Linked DNA regions of Homo sapiens: region 2 is linked to region 1. The links are contacts of gene promoters, found by promoter capture Hi-C in blood cells and fetal thymus (Javierre and others, 2016). All regions are on one chromosome and are shown on one strand. The core of a region is centred on a gene start or on the middle of the fragment in contact, and the rest is flanking DNA. Distances in the headings are between cores, read along the strand shown. Region 1 holds the start of FMO1 (flavin containing dimethylaniline monoxygenase 1). Region 2 has its middle 80 kb from the start of PRRC2C.

Region 1 (7,383 bases), core at 870-3,369:
CTTTTTTGTGAATTTTATACTGCTTCCTCTTCTTGAAAGTTGTAAAATGCAAATATATAATTTACTGAAGTCAGATTGAGTGTCCGCTTTGGTTTAGTAGGACAGTAGATCATGAGAGGTCAAAACATGAGGTGACGCCTGTCATTACCAAACTGCAGCGGCACTCTGAGCTATTTTAAAATTTTGAAGAAGCACAGTGATTCTTGATGTCAGTTGAACACTATGCTAAGTATTAGCTGAAAGTAGTTAACAGTTTTAATATTGTAAAAGACTGTGTTCCATTTGCTGACATCATATCTTTGCAAAGCTGGGTGTTTGACAATTGCTATGACAAAAAGCAAGTATTGCATGAAAACTGAGGTAGAATAGAAATGAAGGGTTCATGTCTGATCTGATTCCAAGGTTTGAGAAGTTGTGCAGTGCTCAGCAGGCACATAAACCTTATTATTAAGTAATTGGGATTAAGAATGAAATAAAAATATTATTTTTCTTTTAGTTTGTATATTACTTGTTCAAAAAACTACAAAGTTGTTAGAACATAAATAGTTATTAAGTTTTTGTCTACTTAATAGGAGAAACTATGGTCTGGGGGCACCTTGAAGAAATTGCACACCAAGGGCTCCTTGAACCTAGAAAGTTGAAAACTTCTGGGCAAGAGTTTTATTTTCCGAGTTTATTTTATTGACCCGGAGATTTTATTTGTTGATGTCAAGAAAATGCATATTATACTATATTTGAGGCTAGCATTGTATCAATTAGCCAATGTTTAACTGTTTCCAGTGTGACTCACCTATGCATTTACTAGGAAGCCATTGGCACTGTCAGATTTGTATCCAGCCCTCTATTTATGCATTCCCCATCTTCTCCTCCTTCCCTACTCCCTCTGTCTCTCTCTCTCACACACACACATACACACACACACACACTCCTACACCTTAGTGCATGAAAATACTTCAGAATACTGGTTGGCACAGACTGCACAATGATACCCTATCCTCAAGTGGGTTGTGACATTTCAGGAGTAATCAGAGAGAGATTCAGCTGGATGGCAGTTGGGGTGGGTGAAGGTGCCTACTTAGCCCCTGGGAACAAAGGAGCACAGCTGGTAAGAAACTTGGGTCCAAGGAGGGCCATACTCTGGGATTTCTGTCCTCTAGCAGCAGCTCCTCATTTACTCAAATGTTCCTAACCACAACAAGCAAATAAAAATTCTCCCAGGCTTTAGGTCCTCTGTGCCAGTTACAAGGCCATAGCAGATTCCCTAGGATGCAGGGGAAACTCTAATAACCAAGGACTCAGTTTCTCCATCTGCAGAACAGATGGCATAGACCTGAATATCTAAAAATGATTTTCAAACCCTTGATGTTTATGATCTTGTGAATTTAACTGGAGCAGGATTAGTAAAAAAGATGTGCCAATCACATGGAAATCAATAAATTTTGACATAATACATAGAATGAAGCACGAAACACTTTTAACAACAGAAAAAAAGATGACATGACAGAACAGATTAGTCAAATTCTAAAGGGGCTTGCCTTTTGCTTCCCACTTGTGCCAAATGCCAACATTTGGTAGTCACCCTTCAAAAACTATGATCTCAGACAATGTTAGAAGCTGCTGATGGAAGCACTAAAAAAAAAAAGAGACTTTTCCTCTTGCATTAGAAATCCAAGTTTTTCCCATTTGATTCAACCACTTAATAATCTACCCAACAGTATACTTACCTGTGTACATGGAAGACAGGTAAGTATACTGCTGGGTAGATTATTAAGTGGTTGAATCAATGATATTGTCCCATTATAAGTATCCAAACATTTACTACTCCTATACTTTGGGCCAAGGAGTAGCTTTATAGCTCCTCCAGGGTTGGACAGAGAAAGCTGCTTTCTGATAAGGTGGTTCTTCCCTGGAGCACAATAACAAAACAGGAAAACTCCAGACCCCACTTTCCTCATCCAAAGAAATCAGAGATTATATCTGGTTACTTACTTTACGTACTTGTAATTTCTGGTGCCAATGGCTCTGCCACGCAGGACTCTGGTATTAGCAGAGATCAAAATGAATCAGTATGAGCCAGTGCTGGCTTGGGAGTCCCCAGCACAGTGGATAAACCTGGTCTAAGAGATAAGGAATGTTAAATTTGAAACCCAAGGTTAGCCGTTGTTTATATTTTAACTTGTTGATTAATGCAACAGCGAAATGCTAGGAGAAACACTGTCTGGTGATATGTACTTTAGACTCACTCTTCTGCTTACAGACTATAAACTAAGTTAGGGAGTTACACCAGCATCCTCACTTGTTCATCAGTTTTATTCTTTAAGGGGATGAGAATAAAATAAGACAATTATGTTAACAGTTACTACACCACAGATTCACTTTTAAGGGCTTTGATCCATTTCACCTTTAGGGACAATTATTATTTTTAAAAAATCATATATTACTCACATTAGTAAACTCAATTTGTAAAGGCTTTTTAAGTGCAGCTGATTGCCCAAGCACTTGGGAAATAAAAGACAGGTATATGGGAGGAGTCTGATCTTGGGAATCACAAGTCCTGGGTTCGAGTATTGCGTTCACCAGCTATTATCAGAGTCATGTTGGAAAAATTGTATAACTTTTCTCAGCTTTAGTTTCCTCAATTTAAAATAGGCATGATCGAGTGGCTGCCAGGGGCTGGGGAAAGAAGGGAATGGGGAAGGATTGCTAATGAGTATGGAGTTTTCTTTTGGGTGTGATGAAAGTGTTTTGAAACTGGATAGAGGTTGTGGTTACACAGCATTATGAATGTACTAAATGCCACTGAATTCTATACTTTGAAATGGTTAACGACAGATTGTTGGAAAATGGTGGATAGGAGGCAGGACTAACTTGCAGTTTCCACGCAGACAGACAGAACAGCATGTGGAGACTCACACAGTGAAATTTTCCTCCAAGAAGTACTGCATGAACATACCAGGAAAACCAAAAGAATTCACAGGACCTTTGAAAGAAGTGGCTTGCCGCTGCAAACTCCATGAGACAGCTGAAAAACTGTGAGTGCCCAAAGTGTGAGTGGGGGAAAAAATCTGCCTCCAAACACGCAAACCCACTAGGGAACCTAAAAATCCAGATCACAGGAGAAGGATTTAACCTTACCTAGAGCTGGGATGAATTTAGAGAGCAAAACGAAATATAAAAGTAGAAGCAGTGGGAAGAGCCCTGTAGGTACTCTTGGTGCCCAGGGAAGTCATTTCTGACTTTATCTCACAGGGGTCCTTGAGGAGGGCTGCCAGTGAAATTGAGGAAGGACCACAGGGAGAAGGAAACTTCCAGCTGAACTTTGTAATAGTTTTGACTATTAGCCTGAGAAACACGAATACTTATCCAGGAGACCTTAGGGCAATCTTGCATTCTCCCTATACTACCGCAGCTGATGCTGTCTTGAAAATGAGGAAAAGGAGTCATTATACAAAAAAGATACTTGAACACACTTGTTTATAGCAGCACAATTTGCAATTGCAAAAAATGAAACCAGCCAAAATGCCCATCAATCAATGAGTGGATAAATAATTCGTGGTATATACATACCATGGAATACTACTCAGCCATAAAAAGGGATGAAATAATGGCATTCACAGCAACCTGGATGGAGTTGCAGACCATTATCCTAAGTGAAGTAACTTGGGAGTGGAAAACTGAACATTCTATGTTCTCACTCATAAGTTGGAGCTAGGCTATGAGAATACAAAGGCATAAAAATGATACAATGGACTTTGGGGACTTGGGGGTAAGTGTTGGAGTGGGGGGTGATGCATAAAAGACTACACATTGGGTATAGTGTACACTGCTCAGATGATGGGTGCACCAAAACCCACAAATCACCATTAAAGAACTTATCCAGGTAACAAAACACCACCTGCTCCCCCAAAAGCTATTGAAATAAATAAAATAAAAAATTCTAAAAAATAAATAAAACAGGCATAATAACATCTGCATCAGATAGTTGTGGTGGGGATTAGATGAGATAATCTATGTCAAGAGATTTGTGTATATATAGTAAATACTGTGTATGATTGTAATGATGATAATGATGATGATGATGATGCTGTCATTGTTGGACCAGATAAGGTGTCTTGATTGCTGGTTCATAACACTGAAATGACTCCCACAGGTACAGAGAATAAATTCCATGAGAGGTTGGTGGACTGAAGCAGAGAGAAATTTCTGAAAGAATATGTCTTTTTCCTTGATTTTCAACATGGTATAACCCTTTGACCTGGAGGTCCTGTGTATCACTGAGTATACTGCTTGCTCATTGGGCTCACCTTTTGCCTCATTTCTGGCTTATTAAGTATTCAGCACAGAGACAGCATTGTTAGCTCTGTGAAATTCAGCTGCTTTGCTGCAGCTATGAAAATAATAATATTTGGATGATTTCAAGCTTAATTATACCCAGAGAGTAAGCCTTTAAAATGACTATTAGTTCAAGTATGTTTTCAAAAATCAGAATATGTTTGATTTGTAATTTACCTTGGTGTGCAGCATATACACATCAAGGTAAGTATGTAAGTACTGGGATTTGGTACACTAATGGTGGGACTTAACTTGTCCCTGGGCCTTACCAGGCATGCTGCTAACATAAGGAGAATCACAGGACTTTAAACTGTTGGTTGAGAATAAGATGATGATTTTATTATATCATCTCATTTTCCATAATCAGCAAGAGACTTGTAGTAATTAAAAATGAGAAGACCGGCCTTCGGTGGCAACTTCAGTTTCTGCTATTTTTAGGGATTTTTGTTAGTCAGTTATACTCTAGGCCATGGGATAAGGAAGGATATGTAGTCCCCTTATTCGAGTGGACCTAGACCCTAAGAAGCTGAATTGGTAGACAATAATGCTCTTTAGGAAATATTCTGGACCTCCTACCTTCAGGGAAGATGAATGGTAGGATTGTTCTTCTTGGCCCTCTAGCGGTTGGTTGGGAGGAATGTGACTCGTTCTGGTCAAAGAACTGTGAGCTAGAGTAAGGTGTCCTTTCTGGGCTAGAGCACTTAATTGCCAGTAAGATTCCATAGAACTTTCTTTTCCTTCAGTGTGGTAATCAGCAACTTTCAAGATGGCTCTTCTATTAGTCCGAATACCTGGTGAATGTGATGAGCAGGGCCTACACTAATGGACACATACATGAAATAATCTTTGTTTTATTTCAAGGTATCGAGGTTTGGGGATTGGTTGTTAATGCATCATACCAAGTCTTTATTGATCAATGCACTAGAGGGATGTTTCTTAGCTCCTTCATTGTATTTCTCAATCATCTTCTTTTTTAAAAAGTATATTTTTTATTTCGATAGGTTTTTAGGGAGCAGGTGGTGTTTGGTTACATGAAAAAGTTCTTTAGTGGTGATTTGCGAGATTTTGGTGCACTCATCACCCAAGCAGTGTACACTGTACGCAATGTGTAGTCTTTTATGCCTCACCTCCCTCCTGCCCTTTCCCCTAAGTCCCCAAAGTCCATCGTATCATTCTTATGCCTTTGCATTCTCATAGCTTAGCTCCCACTTATGAGTGAGAACATACAATGTTTGGTTTTCCATTCCTGGGTTACTTTACTTAGAATAATGGTCTCTAACTCCATCCAGGTTGCTGCAAATGCCATTATTTTGTTCCTTTTTTTATGGTTGAGTAGTGTTCCATGGTGTGTGTGTGTGTGTATATATATATATGTATCATAAATTATTATCCACTCATTGATTGATGGGCATTTGAGCTGGTTCTATATTTTGGCAATTGCAAATTGTGGTGACGTAAACATGCTTGTGCAAGTATCTTTCTTGTGTAATGACTTCTTTTCCTCTGGTTAGATACCCAGTAGTGGGATTGCTGAATCAAATGGTAGAACTACTTTCAATTCTTTAAGGAATCTCCACACTGTTTTCCATAGTGGTTGTACTACTTTAAATTCACACCAGCAGTGTAAAAGTTTTCCCTTTTCACCACATTCATGCCAACATCTATAATTTTATATTTTTAAAATTATGGACATTCTTGCAGGAGTAAGGTGGTATTGCATTGTGGTTTTGATTTGCATTTCCCTGATCATTAGTGATGTTGAACATTTTTCCATATGCTTGTTGGCCATTTGTATATCTTCTTTTGAGAATTGTCTATTCATGTCTTTAGCCCACTTTTTGATGAGATTGTTCGTTTTTTCCTGCTGATTTGTTTGAGTTCCTTGTAGATTCTGGATATTAGTCTTTTGTTTTATGTATAGATTGCAAAGATTTTCTCCCACTCTGTGGGTTGTCCGTTAACTCTGCTAATTATTTCATTTGTTGTGCAGAAGCTTTTTAATTTAATTAAGTCCAATCTATTTATCTTTGTTTTTGTTGCATTTGCTTTTGGCTTCTTGGTCATGAAGTCTTTGCTTAAGTCAATGTCTAGAAGAGTTTTTCTGATGTTATCGTCTAGTATTTTTATGGTTTCAGGTGTTAGATTTGTCTTTCATTCATCTTGAGTTGTCAACCATCTTCTTCAGTCTCACTTCCATTACTCTATTTCACTTCTCTGATTCACAGTTAGAGCCACAGAATTTTAGAGCTGAAAGAGAGCACAGAATTTACTTAGTCTGAAAATTGGACCCACCCCGTGAAATTGTTTTTCTCTCTACAAAAAACAAAGTTAAGACAAACACAATTCCCTAACTCACAACTTCCCGCTACACTCGAAGCATCAAAGGTCCCCTACCTACACAGATCTTCCCCACAGATACCTGTCATTCTAAAATGTGAGTGTTTGTTTTTTAATGCCACACATTAAAGGAAGTAATTCCCTCTGTTCCTTACACCTCGAGGTTATTATTTTTCTTTTCCTGAGAACCCACCTTTAGAATGAAAGCACTGAAAGTGGAGTTGGAGGGAGAACCAAGACTACTTAAGGCCAATTATTATGCTTGAAATGAGTTTACTAGTGTCAGTAGTGGTGATTCAGTGACTCACATATCCACTATCTGAAGATTGGAGGAAACAGCCACTTTTATGTTTTTCTTTTTAAGAATTTCTTTAAACATCTTTATAGCTTGATAAACATTTGTGACAAAGCCTGCAACTGTACGTTAGAAACTATCTTATCTATCATATCACTTAGAATTCTATCTTGAGTCTGCCTAAGGGGTTTGTAATTAATACAAAAGGTATTACATGGTATCATTTTTTAAAATTTTTTCTAAAAAAATGGGTACATGTGCAGAATGCGTGGGTTTGTTACATAGGTATACATGCGCCATGGTGGTTTGCTGCATCGTCTAAGTTCCCTTCCCTCACTCCTCACCCCCAACAGGCCCTGGTGTCTGTTGTTGCCCTCTCTGTGTCCGTATGTTCTTATTGTTCAACTCCCACTTATGAG
Region 2 (7,383 bases), core at 1,733-4,232, 160 kb before region 1:
TGGTATTATGGTTATACTGACTTTTTTTTTTGGATGGAGTCTTGCTCTGTCACCAGGCTGGAGTGCAGTGGCGTGATCTCAGCTCACTGCAACCTCCGACTCCCTGGTTCAAGTGATTCTCCTGCCTTAGCCTCCCGAGTAGCTGGGATTACAGGCATGCGCCATCACACCTGGATAATTTTTGTATTTTTTAGTAGAGACGGGGTTTCTCCATGTTGGCTAGAATGGTCTTGATCTCCTGACCTCGTGATCCACCCGCCTCAGCCTCCCAAAGTGCTGAGATTACAGGCATGAGCCACCAAGCCCGGCTGGTTATACTGACTTTATAGAATGATTTAGGGAGGATTCCCTCTTGCTCTATCTCTTAGAGTAGTTTCAGTAGGATTGGTACCAATTATTTTTGAACGTCTGATAGAATTCAGCTGTGAATCCATCTGGTCCTGGACACTTTTTTTTTTGGTAATTTTTAAGTTACCATTTCAGTCTTGCTGCTTGTTATTGGTCTGGTCAGAGTTTCTATTTCTTACTAGTTTAATCTAGGAGGGTTGTATATTTCCAGGAATTTATACATCTCCTCTAGGTTTTCTAGTTTGTGAGGGTAAAGGTGTTCACAGCAGCCTTGAATGATCTTTTGTATTTCTGCCATATTGTTTGTAATACATCCCATTTTGTTTCTAATTGAGCTTATTCGAATCTTCTCTCTTCTTTTCTTGAGTAATCTTTCTAATGGTCTATGAATTTTGTTTATCTTTTCAAAGAACCTGCTTTTTGCTTCATTTATCTCTTGTTTTCTTTTTTTGTTTGTTTGTTTCAATTGTATTTAGCTCTGCTCTGATCTTTGTAATTTCTTTTCTTCTGCTGGGTTTGGGTTTGGTTTATTCTTGTTGCTCTATTTCCTTGAGGTGTGGCCTTTAATTGTCTCTTTGTGCTCTTTCAGACATTTTGAGGTAGGCATTTAATGCTATAAACTTTCCTTGTAGCATTGCTTTTGCTGTATTCCTGAGGTTATGATAGGTTTTGTCACTAGTATCATTCAGTTCAAAAAAAATTTTTTTTTTGGCGACAGAGTTTCACTCTGTCATCCATGCTGGAGTACAATGGTGCAATCTCGGCTCACTGCAACCTCCATCTCCCAGGTTCAAGCGATTCTCCTGCCTCAGCTTCCCAAGTAGCTGAGATTACAGGTATGTACCACCATGCCTGGCAAATTTTGTATTTTTAGTAGAGACAGGGTTTCTCCGTGTTGGTCAGGCTGGTCTCAAGTTCCCGACCACAGGTGATCCACCCACTTCGGCCTCCCGAAGTGCTGGGATTACAGATGTGAGCCACCATGCCCGGCCCAGTTCAAATAATTTTTTAATTTCCATTTTGATTTCATTGTTGACCCAGGGATCATTCAGGAGCAGATTATTTAATTTACATGTATTCGTATAGTTTTGAATGTTCCTTTTGGAGTTAATTTCCAATTTTATTTCACATTGCCCTGGGAGAGTACTTGATATAATTTCAATTTTCTCAAATTTATTGAGACTTGTTTTGTGGTCTATCATATTGTCTATCTTGGAGAATGTTCCATGTGCTGAAGAATAGAATGTATATTCTGTAGTTGTTGGGTAGAATGCTCTGTAAATATCTGTTAAGTGCATTCGTTCTAGGGCATAGTTTAAGTTCATTATTTCTTTGTTGACTCTCTGTCTTGATGACCTGTCTAGTGCTGTCAGTAGAGTATCGAAATCCCCCACTATTATTGTGTTGCCATCTATATCATTTCTTTCACCTAGTAGTAATTATTATTATTATTATTATTATTTTTTTTTTTTGAGACAGAATCTTACTCTGTCACCCAGGCTGAAGTGCAGTGGTGCCATCTTGCCTCAATGCAACCTTCACCTCTCATGTAGCTGGGATTATAGGCATGCACCACCACACCCAGCTAATTTTTCTATTTTTAGTAGAGATAGGGTTTCACTATGATGGCCAGGCTGATCTTCAACTCCTGGCCTCAAGTGATCTGCCTGCCTCGGCCTACCAAAGCACTGGGATTACAGGTGTGAGCCACCACGCCTAGCCAGTAGTAATTGTTTCATAAATTTGGGAGCTCCAGTGTTAGATGCATATATATTTAGGATTGTCATATTTTCCTATTGGACTAATCCTATTATTATTATATAATGTTCTCTTTGTCTTTTTTAAATTGTCATTACTTTAAAGTCTGTTTTGTCTGATATAAGTATAGCTACTCTGGCTTGATTTTGGTTTCCATTAGCATGGAATATATTTTTCCACCCCTTTACCTTAACTCAGTGCGGGCCCTTGTGTGTTAGGTGAGTCAGTTGAAGGCAGCTGATTCTTGGTTGGTGGATTTTTAACCATTCTGCCATTCTTTATCTTTTAAGTGAAACATTTAGGCCATTTACATTCAAAATTTCTACTGAGATGTGAGGTACTATCCTATTCATCATGCTAGTTGTTACCTGAATACCTTGTTTTGTTTTCACTGTGTTTTATAGGCCTTATGAGATTTATGCTTTGAGGAAGATCTATTTTGGTATATTTTGAGGTTTTGTTTCAAGATTTAGAACTCCTTTTGGCATTTCTTGTAGTGCTGGCTTGGTAGTGGTGAATTCTCTCAGCATTTGTCTGAAAAAGAGTTTATCTCTCTTTCATTTATCAAGCTTAGTTTTGCTGGATACAAAGTTCTTGCCTGATAATTATTTTGTTTAAGGAGGCTAAAGATAGGACCCCAGGCAGGGCACAGTGGCTCACGCCTGTAATCCTAGCACTTTGGGAGGCCAAGGAGGGGCAGAACACGAGGTCAAGAGTTTGAGACCATCCTGGCCAACATGGTGAAATCCCATCTCTACCAAAAATACAAAAATTAGCTGGGCATGGTGGTGCGTGCCTGTAGTTCCAGCTACTTGGGAGGCTGAGGCAGGAGAATCGCTTGAACCCAGAAGGCAGAGGTTACAGTGAGCCAAGATCATGCCACTGCACTCCAGCCTGGGCCTCAGTGTGAGACTCCGTCTTAAAAAGAAAGAAAGAAAAAAAAGATAGGACCCCAATCCCTCTGGCTTATAGGGTTTCTACTGAGAAATCTGCTGTTAATTCAATAGGTTCTCCTTTATGTTTTACCTGATGTTTTTGTCTCACAGCTCTTAAGATTATTTCCTTTGTCTTGACTTGATGATTAAGTGCCTAGGTGATGATCTTTTTATGATAACTTTCCCAGGTGTTCCTTGAGTTTCTTGTATTTGAATGTCTAGATCTCTAGCAGGGCCAAGGAAGCTTTTTTTTCATTATTATTCCCTCAAATATGTCTTCCAAACTTTTAGATTTCTCTTCTTCCTCAGGAACACAAATTATTCTTATGTTTGCTCATTTAATAGAATCTCAAATTTCTTGGAAACTTTGTTCATTTTTTTAAAATTCATTTTGTCTTTGTCTTTGTCTCATTGGGTTAATTTGAAAGCCTTGTCTTTAAGCTCTGAAGTTCTTTTTTCTACTTGTTCTAGTCTATTGTTGAAACTTTCCAGTGTATTTGGTATTTCTCTAAGTGTGTCTTTCATTTCCAGAAGTTGTGAGTGTTTTTTCTTTATGATATCTATTTTTCTGGAGAATTTTTAATCCATATCCTGTATTGTTTTTAAAATGTCTTTAAGTTGGTTTTCACCTTTCTGTGGGTGGCAAGCCACCCAGGTGCCAGCCAAAGCAAGAGACCGAGGGTACAAGCTGTTCCAGTATAATAAAGAAAATATATAGAATAAGAATAGTTATACTAGAAATAGATTATGGATATGATTACATATGAATGTTATTAATCATTAGTAGCTTTATTCTTTATTCCAATATTATAATAATCTTTGTTCTACAATTATAACCTAGGAAAAACCAGGCCATACAGAGATAGGAACTGAAGGGACACAGAAGTGACCGGAAGACAAGAGTATGAGCCATCTGTCATGCCCAGACAGGGTCACTAGAGGGCTCCTTGTTCTAGTGGTAATGCCAGTGCCTTGGAAGGCACCCGTTACTTAGCCGACCGGGAAAGGGAGTCTTTCTTTCCCCCAGGGGAGTTAGAGAAGACTCTGCTGCACCACCTCTTGTGGAAGGCCTGACAACAGTCAGTCTCACCCTCAGCCATCCGGAGTCCTAACCGTTTCCCTGTGATGCTGTGGTTCAGCGGTCACGCTCCTGGTCCACTTTCATGTTCCGCCTTGTACACCTGGCTCTGCCTTCTAGATAGCAGTAGCAGAATTAGTGAAAGTACTAAAGTCTTTGAAATGCGTGGAAGAAATAATGACATAAGCCGTCCCCTCTCTTTCTCCGCCTTGGCTACTAAACAGGGAAGGGACACCCCCCCACCCCCGGGTCCGGTGGACACGTGACTCGTGTGATCTTACTTATCATTGGAGATGGCTCACACTCCTTACCCTGCCCTCTTGCTTTGTATCCAGTAAATAACAGCACAGCCAGGCATTCGCGGGCACTACTGGTCTCCGCGTCTAGGTGGTAGTGGTCCCCCGGGCCCAGCTGTCTTTTCTTCTATCTCTTTGTCTTGTGTCTTTATTTCTACGATCCCTTGTCTCCTCACATGAGGAGAAAAACCCACAGGCCCAGTAGGACTGGACCCTACACTTTCTCTGGTAACTCCTTGAGTAGCTTAATAATCAACCTTCTGAATTCTTTATCTGGCAATTCAGAGGTTTCCTCTTGGTTTGGTTCCATTGCTAGAGAGCTAGTGTGATCTTTTAGGGGTGTCAAAGAACCTTGTTTTTTCATATTACCAGAATCACTTTTCTTGTTCCTTCTCATTTGGGAGGATTATTTCAGGTGAAAAATCTGGAACTCAAGGGCTGCTGTTCAGGTTCTTTTGTTCCACCAGGTGATCCCTTGCTGTGGTGTTCTCTCCCTTCTCCTGGGATGGGGGCTTCCTGAGAGTTGGGCTGCAATGATTGTTACTGCCACCCAGCAGAGCTACTGGGCTCTGGGCTAGTACTGGGGATTGTCTGCAAAGAGTCCTGTGATGTGATCTGTCCTTTGGTCTCCCAGCTGTGGATACCCAGTGAAGGTGGCAGGGGAGTGAAGTGGACTCTGTGGGAATTGTTGGTTGTACTTTTGTTTAGTGCACTGTTTTTCTAGAATGCTGGTAATCCTAGCAGTGAAGTTGTCATGTGGAAGGATTCAGGAACCTCTGGTTAGCCATGTTGTAGGGAGTGGAATTAGCTGTTGTTTTCTCCTTCTTTGGAGCAGAGTTGTTTTCTTATGAGTTGCTATAATGGCTTAAGTTGGGTGACCTCCAGCTAGGAAGTGGTGCTTTCAAGAGAGCACCAGCTGTGGTAGAAGGGGGATATAAGCTTGCCCTATGTTGGTCAGGATAAGTATTCAGGCTTCTCAGGTGATGGGCAAGGCCACAGAGCTCCCACGAATTTATGTCTTTTGTCTTCAGCTATCAGGGCAGGTAGAGAAAAACTATCAGATGGGGGCAGGGTTAGATGGATCTGAGCTCAGACTCTTCTCTGGGGCTTGCTGAGGCCACTGTCCGGTATGGGGAGTGTGGTTCTCAGGCCAATGGAATTATGTTCCCAGGGGGATTATGGCTGCCTCTGCTGTGTCATCCAGGTTGCCAGGGAAGTGGAGAAAGCCAGCGGTGGTTAGCCTCCTCCAGCTTCCACGCAGCCAGCAAGGCCGTCTCATTCCTGCTGTGCCCTGCCAACACCACCGAGTTTATATTCAGGCAGCTGGCATGCGGGGCTGAGCTCTTGCCCCAGGCCGTAAGCTTCCCTGCTGAGAAGGGTAGCAGAACTTTCAGGCCTTGCCCCTCCCTGTCTGCCTACACCTTTGGCTGTAGCTTCTGAGCTGCTATCTGCACTTCCTGTTCACCCCCTGAGTTCTGCTCACAAAAATTCGTGCTGGGTCAAAATTATTACAAAGTTCAGCTAGAAGCTTCTTTCACCCTTTGACCCTTCCCTAATTCCTCTGGCTGCCTTCCCCAAGGACCCCTGTGAGATTAAGTCAGGGACGGTTTCCTTGGGCTCAAGTTGGGGACTGGGAGTGCCTACAAGGCTCTTCCCACTGCTTTTTCTACTTTTCATATTTTGCTCAGCTCCCTAAATCTGTTTTAGCTCTAGGTAAGGTTAAATTCTTCTCCTGTGATCTGGATTTTCAGGTTCCCCAGTGTTTGGGGATGTGTGTTTGGAGGCAGGCTTTCCCCGACCTCACACGTTGGGAACTCACAGTTTTTCTACTATCTCATAGAGTTTGCAACAGCAAACTGCTTCTTTCAGAGGGTCTGTGAATTCTTTCAGTTTTCCTGATATGTTCCTGCAGTGGTACTTGAGCAAAATTTCACGATATGAGTCTCTACAAGCTGTTCTGTTCATCCAAGTGGGAGCTACACATTAGACCTGTCTCCTATTTGCCATTTTCTTTCTCACTGCACCCTCTTAGAGTTTTTTCCTTTTTTTTTTTTTTTTTTTGAGACAGAGTCTCCCTCTGTCATCCAGGCTGGAATGCAGTGGCATGATCTTGGCTCACTGCAACCTTCACCTCCCAGGTTCAAGTGATTCTCATGCCTCAGCCTCCTGAGTAGCTGGGATTACAGGCACCCGTCACCACGCCCAGCTATTTTTTTTTTTGTATTTTTAGTAGAGACAGGTTTCACCATGTTGGCCAGGCTAGTCTCAAACTCCTAACCTCAAGTTTCCTAGAGTGCTGGAATTATAGGCATGAGCCACTGCCCCTGGACTACATTTTTAAAGACTTGTTTTGTGGCCTAACATATCTATTCTGGAATATGTTCTGTGTGTATACTTGAGAGGAATGTGTATTTTAGTGGGGTTGGATATATTGTCCTATATATGTCATTCAGGTCCATTTGGTCTAAAACAAGCTTGTCCAACCCATGGCCCATGGGCTACATGCGGCCCAGGATGGCTTTGAATGTGACCCAACACAAATTCGTAAACTTTCTCAAAACATTATGAGATTTTTTTTTCTTTTAGCTTATCAGCTATTGTTAGTGTATTTTATATGTGGCTCAAGACAATTCTTCTTCTTCCAATGTTGCCCAAGGAAGCCAAAAGATTGGACACCCATGGTCTAATGTGTAGTTCAAGTCCAATGTTTCCTTATTGATTTTTTGTCTGGATGATCTGTTCATTATTGAAAATAGGGTTTGAAATTCTCCTGCTATTATCATATTGCAATCTGTCTTTCTCTTCAGATCTGTTAATATTTGCTTCATATATTTAGGAGCTCCAGTGTTGGGGGTGTATATATTTACAGTTGTTATATCCTTCTCTCTAAATGTCTGAAATAAAGTTGTCATATCCTTTTGATTACTTGACCCCTTTATCACTATATAATGACAATTTTTATCCATTT

The links. The method cuts DNA at HindIII sites, captures the fragments that hold promoters and counts their contacts. A CHiCAGO score of 5 or more calls a contact.
Region 2: a contact is called between a fragment that was not itself captured here and the fragment with the promoter of FMO1 in region 1, in 3 of 17 cell types (M2 macrophages, M1 macrophages and M0 macrophages). The highest score is 9.5, in M2 macrophages.

The regions. Positions count from the first base shown.
Region 1 is chr1:171,243,230-171,250,612 of GRCh38, reverse strand. It overlaps FMO1 (flavin containing dimethylaniline monoxygenase 1), which reads right to left and starts at 2,119. Exons shown (of 9, transcript NM_001282693.2): 1 at 1,990-2,119. It overlaps FMO1-AS1 (FMO1 antisense RNA 1), which reads left to right. Exons shown (of 5, transcript XR_922278.4): 2 at 2,886-3,032. The HindIII fragment of the contact is 5,013 bases long and covers 1-4,422 here.
Region 2 is chr1:171,401,892-171,409,274 of GRCh38, reverse strand. No RefSeq gene overlaps it. Among named protein-coding and RNA genes, the nearest start is that of PRRC2C, 80 kb to the left of the region's middle. RefSeq lists silencers at 3,911-4,050, 3,871-4,165. The HindIII fragment of the contact is 610 bases long and covers 2,678-3,287 here.